Regions from separate parts of the Homo sapiens genome. Here regions 2 and 3 are each linked to region 1. The links are contacts of gene promoters, found by promoter capture Hi-C in blood cells and fetal thymus (Javierre and others, 2016). All regions are on one chromosome and are shown on one strand. The core of a region is centred on a gene start or on the middle of the fragment in contact, and the rest is flanking DNA. Distances in the headings are between cores, read along the strand shown.

Evidence for each region. Contacts are between HindIII fragments. The CHiCAGO score rates a contact against its expected background, and 5 or more counts as called.
Region 2: a fragment that was not itself captured here is called in contact with the fragment with the promoter of LINC02902 in region 1 in 4 of 17 cell types (total B cells, naive B cells, M1 macrophages and 1 more); the score reaches 17.2 in total B cells.
Region 3: a contact is called between a fragment that was not itself captured here and the fragment with the promoter of LINC02902 in region 1, in 4 of 17 cell types (total B cells, naive B cells, M1 macrophages and 1 more). The highest score is 23.3, in total B cells.

Annotation. Positions count from the first base shown.
Region 1 is chr7:47,653,432-47,657,129 of GRCh38, forward strand. It overlaps LINC02902 (long intergenic non-protein coding RNA 2902), which reads left to right and starts at 1,813. Exons shown (of 3, transcript NR_171030.1): 1 at 1,813-1,917. The HindIII fragment of the contact is 4,908 bases long and covers 1-3,698 here.
Region 2 is chr7:47,528,196-47,531,893 of GRCh38, forward strand. It overlaps TNS3 (tensin 3), which reads right to left. Exons shown (of 31, transcript NM_022748.12): 2 at 841-952. Among named protein-coding and RNA genes, the nearest start is that of TNS3, 52 kb to the right of the region's middle. The HindIII fragment of the contact is 5,206 bases long and covers 1-3,698 here.
Region 3 is chr7:47,735,726-47,739,423 of GRCh38, forward strand. No RefSeq gene overlaps it. Among named protein-coding and RNA genes, the nearest start is that of LINC00525, 24 kb to the right of the region's middle. RefSeq lists an enhancer at 3,664-3,698. The HindIII fragment of the contact is 4,204 bases long and covers 1-3,698 here.

The DNA.
Region 1 (3,698 bases), core at 563-3,062:
AGGTTAAATTGAACAAGAATATCAGGCATAGTCCATGGAAAACAACCCATACTTCTCTCTGATTCCATAATTTATTTTTTATTTCCAACTTCATGCCTCTCAGTCACGCCGGCCATCTCTATCATGTGCCTTGGACCCTCTGGCCTTGGGGCCCGAATGATGGCTTCAGCCCCTCTGGCCAGCAAGTCTGTCTGCTGCCTCTACTGGACACATGTACTGCCTAAAGCTGGGGACTTTCTTATCTGGTCCAGACCCCCAGTTCCTCTAACACACTCATTCCACAAATAGAGCCTCAGGCTCCTCCAGGCCCATGGCTACAGAGCCTTTCCTCTCCTAGAGTTTCTCTCCTTTTAGACTCACAAACTCTCTGCTTACCTGCAAGGTGACAGCCTCACTTGAGGAGGAGGAGCTGAGGTTCACTAGGTGGGAGCTGGCCCAAGTCAGTTTAGCTCAGAGGTCGGAGTCTTTGTAAGATGCAGAATGAAAATGAAGTGTTACGACCTCAACCTCCCTCTCCCATCACCCGCTGGGCAAATGCCAATGTCACATCCTTTAAACTGACTTCCTGCCTCCTAGGTCTCTGCCCTGCCTGGTTTAGATCGAAGTGATTAACCTTCTCCCGGGAGCTCGGGGAGGGAAGTCTGGCTGAGCCCTCTTGCCCTTCAGTTCTGCTGTCCTCCTCTACCCAGGTGGGTATTTGACAAGTTTGTGGATTTCAAGCAAAATGTATCTAAAATACATTGTCTTACAGTATGAACTAGAGGAAACAGTGTTTGAATGTTATCTGTTTCTTTTGGAACCAAATCATTGGGTTGGATGATTTATTAAGAAGTGAATCATCCGGGCCGGTGGCTCACGCATGTAATCCCAGCACTTTGGTAGGCCGAGGTGGGCTGACCACTTGAAGTTACAGGTTCGAGACCAGGCTGGCCAACACAGTGAAACCCTTTCTCTACTAAAAATACCAAAAACTTAGCTGGGTGTCCTGGCACACACCTGTAATCCCAGCTACTCAGGAGGCTGAGACACAAGAATTGCTTGAACCTGGGAGGTGGAGGTTGCAATGAGCCGAGATCACACCACTGTACTCCAGCCTGGGCAACAGAGCGAGACTCCTTTGTCTTGAAAAAAAAAAAAAAAATTAAAGTGTCCCAATCTGGGGGGAGGAACAGGGTCACTGCTATGAGAAAGCTAGAGATGGCCTAGGGTCCTTTCTAAAATTTCCTCTGATATTCCTCACACTTTCAAATGATTTCTCCTTTCTTCCCACTCCAGCCACAGACTGCTAGGAAGTACAGTATTTTTTCTTTTGGAAGAAAAAGTAAATGGGAAGGCACAGGATTTTTATTAATGCTGTTACTGATTTTAAAATAAGCTAAGAATGTGCCGTCAATCCAGTTGGCTGCTCCCTGCCGCCCACGGAGCCTGTAATCACTGCCTTACAGCTCACGAGAACAATGGCAACACAAGCAAACCACATCTGCATTTCCACATTCTGAGCAGCAGGTCCCTGAAATAGAGGCAGGGTACGGGAAATTATAGGACTTCAGTGAAACTGTAGGATTGCTGGGATTCCCACAGGCGCCCAGCCCTGGCTCGGGGAATATTTGAGTGTGGGAACTACCCTAGCATCTCTGCACTTACAGGAGAACCAGGGGATTCACCCGTCATGAGAGCAGAGCTCCTATACCCTGGCATCCTGCGCCCCAGGCACCCGAGGGATCCTGGGAAAACCCAAAGCTATGTGGCTAAAACTCCTGCTTTGGGGCTCAGGGTTCAGGGGGTACGCTAGACTCCTCTCCCCATTCGATTCTTGCATTTGGCAGACGAGTCACCCGGGCAGTGGGATGAGGATGGCACCAACAGAGTCAACAGAAGGAAGACGGCTCTGGCCGGGCCCCAGGGAGGGAGGCAGCGGTCAGGACAGTGGTCTTTGTGGGGCCTGGGAGGTGTGGATGCTGGGAGGGATGTGGGGGTGGTCCTGGATGACTGTTGTTCTTTCTGGACCTGGGAAGTGGTTACATGGGCGTGTCCACTTCATGATAATTTGATTTTTTGTCTTTTTTTAAAATGTTTGCTATCCATCAAAATTTGAAAAAGCTCCCAGGGCTTTGGTAACTCCCTGTGGGGCAGAGAGAGTCCACAGAATGTCAAGGCTGGATTTTCTGCCAGGCTGGAAGGAGGAGGGCTCAGGGTTGTATTTGATTTGTTTAGGAGATGGAAAGAAACTGGCCATGTCTTACACAAGGGAAAATAGTTGTTTTCCCAACATCTGGGGTCTCGAAGGCACTCGAGAAGTGATTACTTTGGGGGGTTTCTGCTTCTCCTGGCAGGCTGAGCTGTTCTGGCTGGGAGGCCTCACTTGTCTCCCCGTCCACACTGCTGGCCCGTGGGGTCTCGCGATGGCTGATGCTGATGTATGGGAAAGCCACGCACCCCAAGAGACTCCATCCTCCCAGTAAGCACTCCATGGAGGAAAGAGAGAGGTGGTAATCAATAAACTTGAGTCATTATTGATATTAGTTGTATTGAACATTTACCACGTGGCAAGCAGGGGTGCCGGGGAAAAAACGACTAAAACCTGGGAGGAAGTTTTTTTTTTTCTTTTGAGACGGAGTCTCGCTCTGTAGCCCAGGCTGGAGTGCAGCGGCGCGATCTCGGCTCACTGCAACCTCCGCCTCCCGGGTTCACACCATTCTCCTGCCTCAGCCTCCCGAGTAGCTGGGACTACAGGTGCCCACCACCACGCCCGGCTAATTTTTTGTATTTTTAGTAGAGATGGGGTTTCATCGTGTTAGCCAGGATGGTCTCGATCTCCTGACCTCATGATCCGCCCGCCTCGGCCTCCCAAAGTGCCGGGATTACAGGCGTGAGCCACCGCGTCCGGCCAAGGAAGGTATTTTTATTGGCCACAATTAACAGATGAAAAAGGCGAAGATCCAGGTGTGTTTGGAACTTGGGCCAGGTTAGGGGGTTACACAGGCTCAAGAACTGCCTTTCACTTGTTTAGATTCAGTCAAGACCAGAACAAAGAGAAACACGGAGATTTCTGTCCAGGAGTGGGCCTTCAGGGACTGCATAGCTTCTCAGTGCTCGACTTGCGTGATGGGATAAGTGCTCTTAGAGCTCACTCACCCCTTCTGTCATGTGAAGACACAGGGAGATGGCATCATCAATGAACGAGAAAGTGGGCCCTCCCCAGACAGCGAATGTCCTGGCACCTTAATCTTGGACTTTCAGCCACTAGAACTGCAAGAAATAAATTTCTGTTGTGTGCGAGCCATCCAGTCCATGGTACTTTGTTACAGCAGCCTGAAGGTACTAGCAAGCCTTAAGAAAAGTATCAGAAAATGGCCGGGCGTGATGGCTCACGCCTGTAATCCCAGGGCCTTGGGAGGCCGAGGCAGGTGGATCACGAGGTGAGGAGATCGAGACCATCCTGGCTAACACGGTGAAATCCCGTCTCTACTAAAAATATAAAAAATTAGCCGGGCGTGGTAGTGGGCGCCTGTAGTCCCAGCTACTCCGGAGGCTGAGGCAGGAGAATGTCGTGAACCCAGGAGGCGGAGGTGGCAGTGAGTGGAGATCGTGCCACTGCACTCCAGCCTGGGCAACAGAGCAAGACTCCGTCCCCCCCCGCAAAAAAAAGAAAGAAAATGGTCAACCTGTCTCAAGAGCCTCAAGATATTCTCACTAAG
Region 2 (3,698 bases), core at 584-3,083, 130 kb before region 1:
CCCTGGTCACATCCTCAACCCATTAAGGTTTGACTGCGTGCATCGTTCCATCACAGGCACCCTACTCTAAAGTGGCCATCAGGGACCATCTGCTGGGGGTCTGCAGGGAAGGAGGCACTGAGGGGGAGGTCCTAACAGCACAGAAGCCCACAGGCTGAGACTCTGCACATTTTCTAGAGGAAATCCCCAACCCCGCAGATGAAATGATGCCAAAGAGCAGCCCCCGCACTCTCCAAGGACCTGGTCCTCCTAGTGACTCCCTCTGTGTGGTGTACCCCACTGGTCCGCCAAGCAGCCCCTGCCCCCCACCACTCCCACATTCATTACAGTCACACCTCTCTTACTAGATTTATTAATGTGCAGTCACAAAAGAATTGGCAAGTTCCATTCATTACTTGACGTCTAAATATCTGGTACCCAAGCTGGTGGCTTAGTTTAGTGACAGGATCTGAAAGGGGCCATACCAAAATGAACCCGAAATCTAAAGATAGAAACATTTCATTCGCAAACTTGAGTAACAGATCTGAAAGTCAAACTAAACAACCTGAGTTACTGACACTTCAGAGCAGACCTGAGAATAAATGATTAATTTACAAATTGCTGCCTCCTCTCCCATCGGGAAACTCTGCTCTTTCTGTAAAAATGTCCTCATGAGCACTTATCTATGTAAATACGGTTGGCCCCTGCTAAGTAAGGGGGTAGGGGGTTGGGGGACATATAAACTAAGAAGGGGAATTCCATGATTTAACTTTCGGAAACTCCTGAAAAAAAGTTTTCGTTTTGTTTCTTGTTTGTTTTGCTCTGGATTAATCAGTGAGAGAATCATAAACACAGACTTACCTCGGCATGAAATACCTTGACCGTCAATAATTTGTTTGCAAACTCCACACACTTTGGATTTTTTAAAGGCCTTGTTCTTAAAAGCGTGCAGACTCGAGGTTAATTCTTCCGGCTGAAAAAGTAAAGGAAGAAATTGTCAACGTTTCATCTCATAGTTTGTTTCTTTTTCCTTTTCATTTAAGGGAAATAATAAATCTAGTGGAATTGTAAAGAGCAAAAACAGGAATTTTACCAAGCAAACAGAGAACAAGAAACCATCTTGGTGATGCTAAAATTCCCAAGACGACCCACGGATACCATGTTAGCATTCCCAATTCCAGAGTCCTAGACGGACGTTCACTCTCACCCAACTCATCAATCACCACATGGGGTGCCTAGAAACATTACATCAACCAACATCATTATGTGAAAATGCACTCCCTTCCAGACTTCAGCCGTAGAGCCACCTACTTCTGTGACAAAGTAATCCACATACACTTCTAGACTCTCAACCCTTTTTCTTCTGGAAAAAGTAATTAGCTAAACAGCATAATTATGTTATGAGGAAGTCAACTGGCTTTCCTGGTTCAAAGGTGTTCCAGAATCACCATTAAGCTCTTGAGCCTCTCTGAGCTCTCCTGCAGAAGAAGAGACAGTCCAGCCTGTGATACACATGTGGTTCTTCCTCAAACACAATTACAAGCATTAGCACTTGGAAAAACTAACCACTCAGCTACCTATTCATGTTTGTAGAGCCAAGGCTCTCAGCTATATGATAACCTTATAAGAATTCAATTTGCTTTTAGAGTCAAGCACTAATCATGTCTATTTGCTGATATGTGACCGTGTATTCTATCAGTACTTAATATCCATATGGATTCAGTGAGGCCATTACTCACCCACTGGAATAATTAAATTTATTTGAAAAGATGAAATGGTATTTAGAATGTGGAATAAATGGTACAACTACTTTAGAAAATGGTTTGACAATTTCTTATAAACTTAAACATACACCTAACCTATGACTCAGCAATTCCATTCTTATTTACACTAAAGAGAAATAAAAGCCTATGTCCACAAGAGAAAGAAAGGTCATAACAGCTTTATATAACCCAAATGTCCATCATAATAACTATTCTATATGCTAGAAAGTTAAGTAGAGATCTGAAAAACATAAAAAGATCCAAATCAAACATTCATTGAGGAAAATGTAAGAATACAGTGCAAGATACACTGGATGCGATTACTGGCAGATTAGATCCTGCAGAAGCACAGGTGAATGAACTTGAAGACATCACAGTACGAACCTCCCAACGCAAAGCACACAGAGATGAGACAACCTAAATAAACAAATAAACAAGCATCAGTAAGCTGTGGGAGAACTTTAACCAACATAACATATGTGTAATGGAGACTGACGGAGAAGGGCAGGGAAGGGGGGATATTTGAAAAAATAATGGCTGAAACTTTTTCAAACCAGGAGGAAAACTATAAACCCACAGATCCAAGAAACTCAAGAAATTTCTTGGCCAGGCTCGGTGGCTCACACCTGTAATCCGAGCACTTTGGGAGGCAGAGGCGGGTGGATCACCTGAGGTCAGGAGTTCCAGACCAGCCTGGCCAACACGGTGAAACCCCGTGTCTACTAAAAATACAAAAAATTAGCCGGGCATGGTGGTGGTGCCTGTAATCCCAGCTACTCGGGAGGCTAAGGCAGGAAATCGCTTGAACCCAGGAGGTGGAGGTTGCAGTGAGCCGAGATCGCGCCATTGCACTCCAGCCTGGGCAACAAGAGTGAAACTCCATCTCAAAAAAAAAAAAAAAATATATATATATATATATATTTCTAGCACAAGAAATGTGACAGGAACTACCCCAAGGCATACAATAATCAAATTGCTTAAACCCAGTAACAAAGAGAAAGATCTTAAAAACAACCACGGGGCCAAAAGACACATTACATGCAGGGAACCAACCAATAGGATAACAGGTTTCTCATTGTTTTAAAAAATATAAGTGAGAAGACAGCAGTATAATAGGAAATACTGAAAGATGGACACAAAGAAGGGAACAGACACCAGGGCCTACTTGAGGGTGGAGGGTGGAAGGAGGGTGAAGATTGAAAAACTACCTATCGAGTACTACGCTTATTACCTGGAGGAGGAAATAATCTGTACACCAAACCCCCACAACACACAATTTACCTATATAATAAACCTGCACATGTACCCTGAATCTAAAAGTTAAAAAAATAAACAAAATAGAATAAAACAAAATACTGAAAGAAAACTTGTCAATCTAGAATCCTGTACCCAATAAAAATAGCTCTTCAAAATAAAAGTGAACCAAAAACTTCTTAAAATATGCAAAAAAAGATATACAATTAAAGCCCAAAAAAAATCATCACCAGCTGACACCTATGACATATTAAAGACAGTGCTTGGGCAAAAAGGACATGGCAGATGGAATTATGGCTTTACACCAACAGATGAAGAGCACCAGAAATGCTAATTACACAGGTAAATTTATGAGTTTTTCTTATTATTTAAAGCTCACCAAAAGATAATTAACTGTTTAAACAATAGTGTAATGTGACATGTGACATATGTAAAAGTAAATTTTCTGAAAAAATAGCACAAAGTTCAGGAAAGAAGAAAAGGAAATATACTATTGATGACAGCGGTTGCTACCATCACGCTGGCTGCAGCAGGGAGGTGAGGCTGGGGCTGCACTCTCCATGGAGCCGGTGGGAGCTCCACCCCTTCTGAGTTGGGGTGGGAACTCCCTGGGTGCCACTGCAGCTGCCCAAACTGCAGCTGTAGATCCAAGCCTCCCTGCGCTCTTGAGTGGGGCCAGGAGCAGGCAGGATCTGCCCCCCG
Region 3 (3,698 bases), core at 535-3,034, 82 kb after region 1:
CAATGTGTACTCCTCTGTGCTTAATTCCAACAGAGCACTTTCATCCTTACGCTGTGGGATCCCATGCTTGCCCGCTCTAACCTACAGAGCGTGTCTTCTCTGGATGGGAGAGTGAAGAGTGGAGGGGAAACAAAGGCGTGAGCTTCTTTTTCCTGAATATCTTCTCACCATGAGCAGGCAACACATTAAGAATATGCTGGTCTCAAGGGCTCCTTTCTCCAGGATGGACACAGAGGGTTGCCCAGACTTCAAGCAGGAAGGCGTGGCCACTGCCTTCCACTGCCAAGATGTCTCTTTCTTTCTTTCTCTTTCTTTCTTCCTTTCTTTCTCTCTTTCTTTTTCTTTCTTTCTCTTTCTTTCTTCTTTCTTTTCTTTCTTTTCCTTCCTCCCTCCCTCCCTTCTTTCTTTCTTTCTTTTTCTCTCTCTTTCCTCCCTCCCTCCCTCTCTCTCTCCCCTCCCTCCCTCTCTCTCTTTCTTTCCACCCTCCCTCCCTCCCTCTCTTCCCTCCCTCCCTCCTTCTTTCTTTCTTTCCTTCCTTCCTCCCTCCCTCCCTCCCTTCCTTCCTTCTTTCCTTCTTTCTTTCTTTCCCTCCCTCCCTCCCTCCCTTTCCCTCCCTCCTTCCCTCCCTCCCTGCTTTCTTTCTTTCTTTTCCTTCCTTCCTTCCTTCCTTTCTTTCACGGAGTCTCACTCTGTCGCCCAGGCTGGAGTGCACTGGTGTGATCTCAGCTGGCTCACTGCAACCTCCACATCCTGGGTTCTCTGCCTCAGCCTCCAGAGTAGCTGGGATTACAGGTGCCCGCCACCATGCCTGGCTAATTTTTGTATTTTTAGTACAGATGGGGTTTCACCATCTCGGCCAGGCTGTTCTTGAACCCCTAACCTTGTGATCCACCCGCTTTGGCCTCCCAGAGTGCTGGGATTACAGGAATGAGCTACCGCGCCCGGCTGATGTCTCATATTTCTAATAGACTGTTTTCTGAGGGTTGATAGGGTTCAGGAGAGAGAGATGCGTTTCTCTTAAACGAGACAAATGAATGCCTGCAGGAATTAGGGCTCTCTACGAATCAGCGAGTTGGCTGCTGGGCTGCTGAGAACATGCCCTGGACTGGGGAAGCATCAAGTTTCAAAGCCCCCTACCCGCCATAGCTGAGTCCTCATGATCTTGGCCTCATCCTAGAAAATCATGACATTCTATTTGTTTCCTATTGTTGCTATAACAAAGGAACACAAATTTAGTAGCTTAAGACGGCTCAACTGCATTGTCTTAGGGTTCTGGAGATGAGAAAGGCCCCCAGGGCTGTGCTCCTTCTGAGGCTCTAAAAAAGAATCCATTGCCCAGCATTGTCCGGCTTCTAGAGGCCATCCACATTCTTTGGGTTGTGTCTCCTTCGCGCATCCTCAAAGCAAGCTGCACGGCATCTTCACATCCCTCTCCCTCTGTTCTCTGACCTCCGCTTCCATTGTGACATCTCCCACTCTGACTCTGAGCCTCCCTCTTATAAGGATCCTGTGATGACATTGGGCCCAGCCCCACAATCCAGGACAATCTACTTCAAGACCCTTAATTTAATCCCATCTACAATGTCCCCTTTGCCATGTAAGGTGCCGTACCCACATGTTCTAGGGCCCAGGACATGGACATCTTTGGGGGTCATTATTCTGCAGATTGCAGAGATGTTGTGGGGATTCCCCTCAATTTCTCCTTACTCCTCATTCACTCCTTCACTTTAGCCATTTAAAATAATTAGTCCCCAACAAGGCCCATCTGACCAAGGGCTGTCCGCCTGGGGTGCCAACTGTGAGAAGGGATGTGGGGAGCAAGTGAGGGGAGCAAACTGGGACCCACAGAGGGGCCTCCATGTCTGAACAGCTGGCAGCAGGACAGACTTCCCTGCAGCCAGTGCTCAGGTCCTGACCTGGAGGGAGGCTTCAGCTCCCACCTCCATCCTTTCCCTCTTTGTACAAGCCCAGAGGGAGGGAACCATTCCTCTGCCTCAGTCACAATCTGACAAAGCAGGACCGTTGTGCAACTTAAATGCTCCAGGCTGGGCTTTGGGGTCTGCCAAAAGCACAGCTGACATTCTTTCATTGTTGCAGGGCAGACAGTGGCAACAGGGACACAAGGGCATCTGCCTTCAGCTCATGTTGCCCTTCTCTCGTGGGAAACACAGAACCAGCGGAGCCTTTTTAATGTTCAGTCTTGAGCTGTTCACAGTGGCCCAGCTTGTTCCAATTTCCGGGTCCTGAGCCACAGGCTAAGGGTATGGATGTTGAGTATCTCCCATCCCCTGCCCTGTCTGAGACCATGTGAGGAACCTTTTAGGCCACACCTGTCCTCCGGTCCCATGATGATGTTCCTAGCGTTTCACATATGCTGCAAGTTGCCTCAATTATGTGGGGGCTGGTCCATCTTTCACTTGGGCTTCACAGCCTTCGCCCTCCCTGGTTTCAGACCCTCATCTTCAGGTGTGTAGCAAGACTGGTGTCTGCATCCTACAGCCCATAGCTTTCCTGATTCAAAATGTTAAACCACACTTCCCCAGGCTCTCACTGCAGCCTCCCATCCAGTCCAGACTGTGGCTGCTCAAAGTGTGGTCCCCGGACCAGCAGCCTTAGCATCTCTGGAGAGCTGGTTAGAAAGTCCACAACTTTAGGTCCATGCCAGACTTGCTGAATTCTAATCTTCATTTTACCAAAAGCCCCAGGTGGCATTTGTGCAAATTCAAGCACGAGAATCACGGCCTGGCTTTAGGAAACCATGCCATCTCCCAGAGTCGTACTTTCCTTGTCTGTAAAATGAGCAGTTGGATCAAAGGTGCCCTGAGTTTCCCCCTCTGTGGTGTCTTATGGCTCCTGTATGTGGCTCCACCTTTTGTAAAGTGTTTAACAAGAAACCGGCTCCATGAGCCTCACAAACCAAAGACTGAACAATAATCACATCAGTGGCTGAGTTGTTAAACTTCTAAATAGAATCTGACTTGTATGCTATACGATGTGTGACCGTAGTGAGTGACTTGGACATTTCTGGGGACTGCCCCACCCTTCTTGTGGGCCTAAGCCACAAGCCACATTCACACCTGAGTGTGAGGAGGCAACAGCCTCCTCAGGGTCTCTGCCTCTGCCTTCAACAAGCAGCGGAGAGCTCTTTGCAGAGCCCACACGGACAGAGCCTGAGTCCCTCCACCAGACCCTCCCCCACCTGCTGCCCCTTCTCACTTGCCCTTGCCTCCAGCAGCCTGGCCTTGGCTGGCCTTTGACCTCAGGTCCTCGGGCCTTTGCAGGTCATCCTGTGGGCCTGAGACATTGCCCCATAGCCCCAGCCTAGTCTGCTCTCCCAGCCCCCTCAGGTCTCTGCTCAAATGACACCATCTGCAGAGGCCTCTCTGGAGCAACTTATTTGATGCTGACACTTGCTTTCCACTAGCCCACACCACACTCCTGGTCCCTTTTGCCTTCCTCTAATTTTTCATTTTTCCATAGCAATTCCCACCTCCTAAGATGATGCAGCATTTACCTCCTGTGATGATGGCTGTTGCCCCACAAGGACAGGGATTCTCGTCAGTTTCAGTTCCCAGATGTTCCCCAGCATGGTAAATGTCTGGCACAGAGCATACACAGTATTTTTGGGAGGAACACACTTCTTATTCCTCAAAGTTTCAGGGAACAGGCCCCATCAGGTGCCTCTGTATCCCCAGGTG